Linked DNA regions of Homo sapiens: region 1 is linked to region 2. The links are contacts of gene promoters, found by promoter capture Hi-C in blood cells and fetal thymus (Javierre and others, 2016). All regions are on one chromosome and are shown on one strand. Each heading gives the region's core, a stretch centred on a gene start or on the middle of the fragment in contact. The rest is flanking DNA. Distances are from core to core; before and after follow the strand shown. Region 1 has its middle 84 kb from the start of LINC02725. Region 2 holds the start of ETS1-AS1 (ETS1 antisense RNA 1).

What was found. Contacts are between HindIII fragments. The CHiCAGO score rates a contact against its expected background, and 5 or more counts as called.
Region 1: a fragment that was not itself captured here is called in contact with the fragment with the promoter of ETS1-AS1 in region 2 in 1 of 17 cell types (total CD8 T cells); the score reaches 5.7 in total CD8 T cells.

The regions. Positions count from the first base shown.
Region 1 is chr11:128,008,993-128,014,644 of GRCh38, forward strand. No RefSeq gene overlaps it. Among named protein-coding and RNA genes, the nearest start is that of LINC02725, 84 kb to the right of the region's middle. The HindIII fragment of the contact is 2,841 bases long and covers 1,262-4,102 here.
Region 2 is chr11:128,524,890-128,530,940 of GRCh38, forward strand. It overlaps ETS1-AS1 (ETS1 antisense RNA 1), which reads left to right and starts at 1,253. Exons shown (of 4, transcript NR_120581.1): 1 at 1,253-1,426; 2 at 1,644-2,529; 3 at 4,122-4,196; 4 at 5,249-5,494. The region is part of intron 3 of ETS1 (ETS proto-oncogene 1, transcription factor); the gene reads right to left. LOC124902790 (a long non-coding RNA gene) reads left to right here and starts at 5,500. Exons shown (of 3, transcript XR_007062949.1): 1 at 5,500-5,585; 2 at 5,947-6,037. The HindIII fragment of the contact is 5,425 bases long and covers 852-6,051 here.

The DNA.
Region 1 (5,652 bases), core at 1,432-3,931, 510 kb before region 2:
TGAAGAGACTTAGTGTCCCACACAATAATAGTGGGAGACTTTAACACCCCATGACAATATTAGACTAGATCATCAAGAAAGAAAATTAACAAATATATTCAGGACCTGAACTCAGCTCTGGATCAAGTGAACCTAACAGATATCTACAGAACTCTTCACCCCAAAACAACAGAGTATACATTCTTCTCACGACACTTATTCTAAAATTGATCACATAATCGGAAGTAAAACATTCCTCAGCAAATGCAAAAGAACTGAAATAATAACAAAAAGTTTCATAGACCACCCCACAATCAAATTAGAACTCAAGACTGAGAAATCCACTCAAAACCACACAACTACATGTAAACTGAGCAACCTGCATGACTCCTGGGTAAATAATGAAATTAAGGCAGAAATCAAGAAGTTCTTTGAAACTAATGAGAATGAAGAAACAACATACCAGAATCTCTGGAATGCAGCTAAAGCAGTGTTAAGAGGGAAATTTATAGCACTAAATGCTTACACAAATAAGCCAGAAAGATGTCAAATTAACAACCTAACAACCCAACTAAAAGAACTGGAGAACCAGGAGCTAACAAACCCAAAAGCTAGTAGAAGGCAAGAAATAACCAAGATTAGAGCAGAACTGAAGGAGATAGAGACACGAAAAACCCTTCAAAAAATCAACAAATCTATGAGCTGGTTGTCGAAAAAAATTATAAAATAGATAGACTCATAGTTTGACTAATAAAGAAGAAAAGAGGGAAAAATCAAATAGACATAATAAAAAATGATAAAGAGGATATTACCAATGACCTCACAGAAATGCAAACAGCCATCAGAGAATATTGTAAACACCTCTATGCACATAAACTAGAAAATCTAGAAGAAATTGAAAAATTCCTGGATGCATACACCCTCCCAGTAAGGTGAACCAGTAAGAAATTGAATTCTTGAATAAACCAATAACAAGTTCTGAAATTGAGGCAGTAATAGATAGCCTACCAACCAAAAAGAGCCCAGAACCAGACAGATTTACAGCTGAATTCTACCAGATGTACAAAGAACAGCTGGTTCTATTTCTACTGAAACTATTCAAAAAAAAATGAATAGAAGGGACTCTTCCCTAACTTGTTTTATGAGGCCAGCATCATCCTGATACCAAAACATGGCAGAGATACAACAAAAAAAGTAAACTTCAGGCCAATATCCCTGATGAACATCAATGCCAAAATCCTCAATAAAATACTGGCAAACCGAATCCAGTAGCACATCAAAAAGCTTATCCATGATCAAGTTGGCCTCATCCTTGGGAGGCAAGGTTGGTTCAAGCTACAAAAATCAATAAATGTGATTCATTACATAAACAGAACTAAAGACAAAAACCACATGATTATTTTAATATACATAGAAAAGGCCTTTGATAAAATTCAACATCCCTTCATGCTAAAAACTCTCAATAAACTAGCTATTAAAGGAACATACCTCAAAATAATAAAAGCCATAAATGACAAGCCCACAGCCAATATGATGCTGAATGGGCAAAAGCTGGAAGCATTCCCCTTGAAAACTAGCACAAGACAAGAATGCCCTTTCTCCCCACTCCTATTCAACATAGTATTGGAAGTTCTGGCCAGGGCAATCAGGTAAGAGGAAGAAATAAAGAGAATTCAAATAGGAAGACAGGAAGTCAAATTATCATTGTTTGCAGATGACATGATCCTGTATCTAGAAAACCCTATCCTCTCAGCCCAGAAACTACTTAAGCTGATAAGCAACTTCAGCAAAGTCTTAGGATATAAAATCAATGTGAAAAAAAATTTCTAGCATTCCTATACACCAACAACACACAAGCAGAGAGCCAAATCATGAATGAACTCCCATTCACAATTGCTACAAAAAGAATAAAATACCTAGGAATACAGCTAACAAGGGAAGTGAAGGACCTCTTCAAGGAGGACTACAAACCACTGCTCAAAGAAATCTGAGTGGACACAAACAAATAGAGAAACATGCCATGCTCATGGATAGGAAGAATCAATATTATTAAAATGGCCATACTGCCCAAAGTAATTTGTAGATTCAATGCTATTCCCATTAAACTACCATTGGCATTCTTCACAGAATTAGAAAAAACTGTTTTAAAATTCATATGGAACCAAAAAAGAGCCTTAATAGCTAAGTCAATCCTAAGTAAAAAGAACAAAGCTGGAGGCATCACACTACCTGACTTCAAACTATACTACAAAGTTACAGTAACAAAAACAGCATGGTACTAGTACAAGAACAGACCCATAGACCAATGGAACAGAATAGAGAACTCAGAAATAAGACCACACACCTACAACCATCTTATCTTTGACAAACCTGACAACAACAAGCAATGAGGAAAACGCATCATTTTTTTTTTTTTTTTTTTTTTTTTTTTGAGATGGAGTCTCGCTCTATCGCCCAGGCTGGAGTGCAGTGGCGTGATCTTGGCTCACTGCAAGCTCCGCCTCCCGGGTTCATGCCATTCTCCTGGGAAAAGGCATCATTTTTAATAAATGGTGCTGGGAGTGCTGGCTAGCCACATGCAGAAAATTAAAAGTAAACACATTTCTTATACATATACAAAAAATAACTCAAGATAGATTAAAGACCTAAATGTAAAACCCAAAGCTGTAAAAATCCAGGAAAATAACCTAGGCAATACCATTCCAGACATAGGAAAGGGCAAAGATTTCATTAAGAAAATGACAAAAGCAACTGCAACAAAAGCAAACATTGAAAAATGGGATATAATTAAACTAAAGAGCTTCTGCACAGCAAAAGAAACTCCATCAGAGTGAACAGACAACCTACAGAATAAGAGAAATTTTTTCCATCTGACAAAGGTCTAATATCCAGCCTATAAGAAATTTAAACAAATTCACAAGAAAAAAACAACCCCATTAAAAAGTGGGCAAAGGTTCTAAACAGACACTTCTCAAAAGATGACATACATGTGACCAGCAAACATCAAAAAAGCTCAACATCATTGATCATTAGAGAAATGCAAATAAAAACCATAATGAGATATCATCTCACACCAGTCAGAATGCCTATTAAAAAGTCAAGAAACAACAGATGCTGGTGAAGGTATGGAAAAAAAGAAATGCTTTTACACTGTTGTTGGGACTGTAAATTAGTTCAACCATTGTGGAAGACAGTGTGGCAGTTCCTCAAAGACCTAGAGGCAGAAATTTGACCATTTGACCCAGTAATCCCATTACTGTGTATCTACCCAAAGGAATATAAATCATTCTATTATAAAGATACATGCACGTATATGTTTATTGCAACACTATTTACAATAGCAAAGACATGGACTCAACCTAAGTGCCTATCAATGATAGACAGTATACAGAAAATGTATGTGTACACATTTGAATGTACATATACACAATGGAATACTATGCAGCCATAAAAAATAACAGGATGATGTCCTTTGTGAGGACATGGATGTAGTTGGAAGCTGTTATTCTCAACAAACTAATGCAGGAACAGAAAACAAAACAAGACATGTTCTCACTTATAAGTAGGAGTTGAATGATGAGAGCACATTGACGCATTGCAGGGAGCAACATACACTGGGGCCTGTTGGGGGGTTGAGAGAGGGAGAGCATCAGGAAGAATAGCTAATGGATGCTGGACTTAATGCCTAGGTGATTGGATGATCTGTGCAGCAAACCACCATTGTACATGTTTACCTGCGTAACAGCCCTGCACCTCCTGCACATGTACCCCTGAACTACAAATAAAAATTGAAGAGAAAAAAGTTAACAGAACCAGAATCAGAGGACATAAAATCAGCAAACTGAAAAAAAATTACAGAGAAAATGAGAAAATGAGCTCTTCTTGACAACACAAAAAGGAATTTGCCATTTAATTTTTATCCCACAGAATAAAAATAGGAGAACTCTAAAATAAGGTCATTGGACAAAAAATTGTATACGATGAGTTGTGTAAAATAATGAAATCTCAGGAAGAACAAAGAAAGCATAAATGACAGAGATAAATTTTATTTTTATAAAGCATGAAAGAAAGGTCAGAAATATCCTTCATCTCACTGTTATTCATCCTTCACATTATCTATTGAAGCTTATAGAAAAACAAGACTGAAGGATTCTGGTTCCAACCTTGTTTTTGCCACAGTTGGGATTGCCGACCCCTTGCTGCTGAGTTAAATCCTCTTTATACTGTAGTAGAACAAATCTTTATTTTAGGGGAAGAACTAATGACATAGTAGATCATTGGCAAAATAAATACCAAGCCATGCGGTAATTAGTAAAATGACTATTGATAATAACAACGTGAATTAATATTTGGTGAATTTTATAAACAGAGCATTTCAAAAGAAAGAAAGTGTAGCATCCTTTGGAGACAAAATAATACCTCAAAGATTACTGTTCTAAAATAATACCCTCAGAAATGCCTGAGTCTAAACAAAATAGTACTTGGGACTATTAAAAAGGTATACAAACAACTCAAAATTCATCCATCTCAGCGGTGCTCACATCATCTCTGTGAGATCAATAGAAATGGAGAATTTTCTCTACATTTTGGAAACAGAAAAACTGAAACCACCTAAAGAATTACGGCTGCTATGGAGATTAGAAAGAGCTAGAGTTTTTTTCTAAAATATTATTGTCCTTATTAAAAACAAATACACACACACTAGAAAGAATCTCTGTTATTTGATATGATAATTCACATTCATTTGCAGATACATAATTGCCAGTTTGGATTGAATACATGTAAGTAAGGCAGTTAATAAGAGTAGGGGTTATACAATAAAAACAACAACAAAACTAACCATTTGGGGGTGTTCACTGGAACAAACATCTTATATGAATTATGCCAATTTTCACCAGGCCTTTATAAGGTAGTATCATGATTCCCTCTGTGCATCCGTACAGAGAATATTGATGCACCAAGAAGTTTAATCGCACTTCAAAGCCCTGTAAGTAATAAGTGGTTGAACTGGAATTTGTGCCCATTTAGTCATTATTCTGGAACCTGTTCCCCCAACCCCAAATTGTCCTGTCTCGGTCAGGAATGAGATACCATGCTTTGGCATTTTGAATGCTTCCAGAAATCATTTTTGCATTGAAATGAGCTTCCGGGCATGGGTTTGGTCCTCAGAAAGGGTAATATGTTTGTAGGAACAAATTCTCCTTCATTAAAGTGTGATACAAAGATTTTGAAAAGCATTTTTGCTCTGGCTGAGGTCAATTGTTTTGTATGTTTCATTTAGAAATCAGGTATTTGCTTTTAGAAGTATTTTAACTAGACAAAGCACACAGAGCAAAAGCACACCGTTAGAGCTGAGGATTTGATTAAGAAACTTAATTAACATTGCTGGTGTAGTCAGGAGCTGCCCAAAAGGGAGCTCACACCTCAAGCATGGGACTTGGTCTCTAGCATCAGCTGCTACGAAAATCTTCATTCCAAAGAAAAGGCCATAGTGTGGCTCCAGCCAGATGTCAATTATTTGAATAAACTTTCCTTGAAGCAAGTAACACCAATGTAATTTAAGAAACAGTAATGTGAGAGAAAGAGAGAGAGAGAAGAGAGAGAGAGAGAATGTTACTTTCCAAAGTCACTGAAACAACCATCCCAAAGGTTCTAAGAAGGATATTTTTGACT
Region 2 (6,051 bases), core at 3-2,502:
TCTATCCCCAGCACTCACGTCCACTCGGTTACATGTATGCCTCAGTGTCCCCACCAGCCAAACAACAGCAGCCAAGCGTTGCCTTTCATCCACTTGGGCAAGATACTTCAATACCATATCTGGTTTTTAAGGCACTCAGGAAAAAAAAAAATCAATCAAATAAATACTTCTGTGCTTGTGCTTGTACTGCAGCAGTCTGTTCCTCCTGCATTTGGGAAAAAACAGAATTGTATTTTTAAGCATTCCTTAGACTTCGGCTAATTATATCCTACCAAGTGCTGAATTGCCTTACACTAGGAACGTGAAGTCAATAAGGGCCAAGAAAAGTCCGCAGGAGTTGGGGAACAGAAGAGTGGAGCTAGACAATAATATTAAGAAAATAGTCACCTTCATACAGGAATTCCTCAAGCACATGGAGTATGTAAAAAGCATACTTTCTTTTTTATTTATACTCCTCCCTCAACTCCACCCCAACTTCAATAAAAAAGAAATATAAATATACACTTAATGTTGAACAATCATGGAAGACAGACTTTCCCTCTCCAGAAGTGTCCTAGCATGTTATCTACTCCTGAGTCTTGAACTTCAACAAAACAAAGAATCTCTGAGTTTTGAGCTAAAATATGCTTTACTGAAGGTAGGTACAAAAACATTCAGACCACTAACGGCTGATCCAGAACCAGTTTATGACTCACAGATGTTGATTTACTGGTATAAATGTAAGATTTAGAAAAAAAAAAAAAAAAAAAAAAGCCCTCAATTAACAACAACCTGTCTGAGCTGCATTTGTGGTCTCATTTTTCTCTGAGAAAAGGCAACAGTCTCTGTCATACACAGAAACAAGCTTTGAAAGCTTACTTCTAAGGCAAGTGGTTTCTATGTGAGAAGTTTAGTCATTAAAAGTCACACTAGGGAAGAAAAATGCCTGGCACTTCAATATCTACATTATCAAGCAGCAATAAAATGGAAAATTAGAGATAGGAAGGAAAATTAAAATAACTCTCTTAATTAAACTTGGATGCCAAAAAGCCTTAGGGTCAGTTAAGGGACCCAAGCCAGGGGACTCAGATGGTACTGTTGCTGACTGCAGGCTGGCTCTGTGACCTCACCAAAGCCACTTAACCTTTTTGTGTCACAACCTCATCTCTGTTTCAGGGAATAAAATCAGCCCTAGCTCTCCCTAGAATGGAACACAGACTCATTGGCTATTGTTTAGAAGGCACAATAAACAATGAGGGTAGGAGGAGCTGCAGTCAGGAGGGAAGAAGGGAGGGTGGGGTGGGGTTGGGGGAGAGGGGAGGACTTGGGAGCCTGTTTGCCCTGGAAAGCTCAATATAAGAAAACAAAGAGGATAGTAGTGTGGGCTTTGGAATAAGACTCAGGTTCAAATTCTTACTCTACCAACTAGCCAGCTGAATTGCCACAGGTAAGTCATTTAAACAATCCCGAACCTCAGTTCCTCCATGTTTCAACTAGGGATAATAGCAGCACACACCTTTTAAGGCTATTTGAATGATTAAATGAGATAATGTATGCAAAGAATTTAGCACAGTGTCTAGGTGAGAATTAGTATTTGATTATTGTTATTAAGATCTAGTATACGGTAGAATATGTGGGAAATCACATTAAATGTCTGTCTACAGCCATCTCTTTGCAGAATAGCTTGGATGCTCAATTTTCCTGAACGATCTCCAGCGAGAGATAGAACAACTATCACCACATTTCATTTAAAAATCTCTTCAAGACCCTTCCTCAGTTCTTAAACTGGCAACCTGCCCAGCATCAGCCTCACTTGAGAAATTCGAGAACTACCTGATTGGAGAAGAGAACTAGATTTATATTTGTTTTGAGTCACAGAAAAGTGACAGTTTAAATTCTGAAAGAAGATCACATTTGTAGTGCCTCTTTGGAGACAAAACCTTAGGTCTTGGATTTGTCACATGTTAGAGCTCAATGGGAGTTTATCAGTGCTCTCCAAGTCCAGCACTCCTATTTACCAGAGGTGAAAAATGAGTGTGAGTGAGGAAATTATTATTTCCAGGGCCACACAATCTAAAAAAGTCAGTGTCAGTACTAGAACCAGATGCCCTGATAGCAGTTCTCTCCCTGGCATCTCCTTGCATTTACTTTGCATTTCACTTTGGCAGGAGAAGTACCAGACACCCTTGAGACACAAGACAGGATACAATGGACATGGGAGTAGATAGATGAGCAGACTCAATTTCTAGAAATCCAACTTCTCTACACTGGATGTATTGTCTTTGGGCAAATACATTGCAGGATAACCACACTATGGTTCCCTGTGGGAGACAGCTTGGCATGGGCTGTCAGGAGAGAAAGGGCCTGGGTTGGCTCTATTGCTGTCTGCAGTTTCTTTAGACTATAATTATGAACCATTCAACTGCATCTGCAGCCCCAACAATGTGGGGTGGATTGGCCTAATCCACAGACCAAGCGACATTTTAAAATCCAGCAGTTTAGACACGTATTCCTCTTGCAGCAAATCAAACATGGCTCAGACAGGAAGAGGTAAGGAGCTGCCCAAGGTTAGAGGGTTCTGAGGTCTCATCCACACTCAGTGTTGTGTGCTTCCCTGAAGCAGGCTGAGCATGTTGCCTGGAATTGCTGCAAATGCAGAATGCAGGCTACTCTGTGAGCCTTTGGGGATCATGTAATTGGGATTCCAATTTAAATTGTCCTGAATTGGACTCTTGAGGAGGTAGAGGGATAATGGCAATAGCACAGATGGCAAGAGAACCAACATCCTTTAATAATATGAGAGAAGAGGACAGCCAGTCTCCTAGAAGCTCTGCATCCCAGGGCTACAGGATTTCACCCACTGTCCAAGGCTGCAGGTGGTTTCATCCTGGTGGAAGGCTAAGGCCTTCCTCTGATCTTACTCTGCTTTTCTCTTGGGTTACAAAGACAACATCAAACTTCAAAACAGATGTTCTCTGCAGTTGTGGTTTGAATCTTACATTAAGACAATTTCACTGTGGAATCTTTTCCCCTCTCCCCACTACTTTCATTTAAAATGCCAAATCAATTGCCCCAAAAGACTAACATTTACCACCCCAGAGATCAAGAAGCAGAGATAAGTGGAGCACAAAAAGGAGAAATAGCCCTGAAAGGAAAAGGGACGGTGGTACAGGAGGAAGTAGTGGAAGGGAAGTCCTCTGAGAACAATGGAAGTGTAAGTCGAGGACAGAGAAGGGGAGGAGATGAGGAGGTAGAGTCACAGTGATTTTATGTTCTTGTCGTTCTGGGACTTCAGTCCCCAAGATTTCAAAATGCAGTTAAGACCTAGTAAAGTATCCCATACTTTAATTAATTGTCTTGCATGGCCAACAGTCATGGAACTACAGAAAACAGATCAATGGGAGGTCCTCATGCTGGAAGAGATGCAAAGGATCCAGGATAGAATGGAGGTGAAAGGATCTCAGGAGGTCACAGAAGACACAAGGGAAGGTCAAGCTGACAATCTAGGCAGAATATAGAGTGTGTTTCTCAGTCTTTTCCTCACATGGACATTTGCAGTACACAAAGAATTTCCCTCACAGAAGCTGTCACCCCACCCCTGCAAGTTGCCACTTTTCTGCTCAGCTCAAGAGCACACTCCTAGTACATATTTGAATATGCGTGTCAGTCTCCTACACTCTTTAAAGGCAGCAACTGAGGTTCAGTCATTATTACACTCCATGGTGTTTAGCTCAAGGTAGTAAGAGCCCCATAAATTATGTTCATTATTTAATTAATGAACAGTTAACTTCCTAACATCCCCGTAACATTTTTACAGAAAAATGAAGCTCAGATACCAGTTTTGTTTTGCCTAGTTCGGTCTGAAGTGAGACTCAAATTTGCCCAAAGTTTAAGATTAAAGATCCAACCAACTGACTCATTTCTAACTAAAAAGGTCTTCGTAAAGTTTTATTCTGTTCCTCCCATTCCTCCCATCCCCTTAAAGGAGAATGTTGCTAAGATCACAATATTCATTTTACTTTTTATCTAATTTTTTATTCTGAGACTTCATGTAAAAAATGACATTTGGCTCACCACGAAGTAAATCAGTTGTTTGATTGTCAGCCTGGACGTTTTATACATCACGCTATTCATATTCTCAGATGGCTGCTCAGAAGCAGTCTTCAGGAATTTCCGAACTTCGAGTTGAATCTTTTATTTCACTGGCTTCCACAAAGGTAAGATGTACAACTGCTATATACATTATTTGTAAGATAAGGGAAATACATGAAATGAACTCAATTTCCTCCATCTTTATGAGAAAGAATAGACTGTTACATGCTTTATGGTGAGCCAGGGTGCTTACTACAAATCCCTTTCACCTTCTCAAGTTTAATCTGTCAGGACTCCAGAAGCACTGTATTTTGAAATATATCTTCTGGCTATACAGGTGATTCTATATTGAGGAAGGGTATGGGTTGGAAGTAGAAATGGGGGGACATGGGGATGGGCTGAGAGTGAAGATGGGAATGAAAAGGACAGGGAGGATCAAATGGAGCTGCTACAATCTAGCAGGTGGCACAGAAATATAGAAAGCAGCCCTAACCACTTTTGTCGAAGTAGAGTATTGCTCTCTGCACTTTGTTGTTTGTATCTACTAATGGGTAATCAAGATGTTGGAACAGAAAAGGCAGCTGATCTTAAAGCCTAAAAACCAAGGAAATATTGGATTTGGTGAGGGCTCATGATTTCTCCTGAGTTCTGAGGGGGAATCATGAACACACATTATTTTACATCACTTCTTCCAGAACCAGTTCCGTATAAGAGCCCCAAGAAAACATTGATGTGTCACACTAAGAACAGCCTGCTTAGCCAGTAAATATAACATTCTTTGAGTATGTCACTGCAGTCATCCACAAACATTTTACTCAAGAATCTATGCCTATCTTACCTTAGGCATCCTTCAATGAGCAGCATTATAGTGTCATAATGAATTAATATGAATCCTAGCTTCACCAATGCTAACTCTACCAACAGAGGAAGTAAAATGCATAGCACTTTTTAAGTTCCCATGCTGCTTTAAACCTCTTTTCTGGTATGTACTCTCCTGAAAAGGGTGCACAGAATCTGAGTTTCATAAATATGCAGGAACATAAATTCATTAAAACAACTTTAGGGTGTCCAGTGTAATTATTCATATTTAGAATTTACTGAGCATCAAGCATGCCAATGATGTAAAGTTGACAGATTTGAATAAGAAGCTCAAAAAGGGACATGTCAATTTCTCCAGCGTTACAGCTCACATTTGATTCTCAGCTCTTAAGGACCAAAAAGAAATGAAGTCTTCTTTAATTTGCAAGCAGCCAGCTGTGCTCACTCCACATCTTGCATCAGCCCTGTGAAGGAGTCAGAATGTAGTGGATGGTCCTGCCCATGACTCATGAGGTGGAACAGACCCAGCTCACATCTCATCTATCTGGATTGGCTCCCATACAATAAAAATCTTTCTTCCGTTGAGTTGGTGAAAAGAAGAGAAGCAAAATGGGCATGTGTGACGTGTAAGAGGGCGCCATTTAATCAGACAGGCCTGTGAAACACTTTCAAGAGTCCAGGGCTGGCAGTGAGAGGTAATGACAGGTAACGTGCAGAATGAAGAAAGCAGAAAGCATATAGAAGTTGCTTCTTAATGGAAACGTGTTTCATCAGAATGATCAGAAACATGTGTTCTCCCCAGATTGGGAAACCATCTTGAAAGACTTCATCACAAAAAGGCCTTGGGTGGGAAGTACCACAAGGGACCCATCCAGGAGGGGTGGGAGGAGGTGCAGCTGGGTGGGAAGCTGGCAATGGACTGTGAGAGGAAAAAACAAAGGGCAGTCAGCGCTCTCATGGCAGATTCCCAAGAGAGAACCCTTTCCAGGAATTTAAAATTCTGAATAATTGTTGAGAATTTCTAAAAATCAAGAAGATTATAAACTTTTCTTTCAGGGGATTCCACAGCATTGAGAGAGACCAGATGGCTGGCAACAAAATTCCAGATCCAGGAAAGGTCCAGCATCTACATATCCATCCACTTTTAGTGAGCTAATGCTT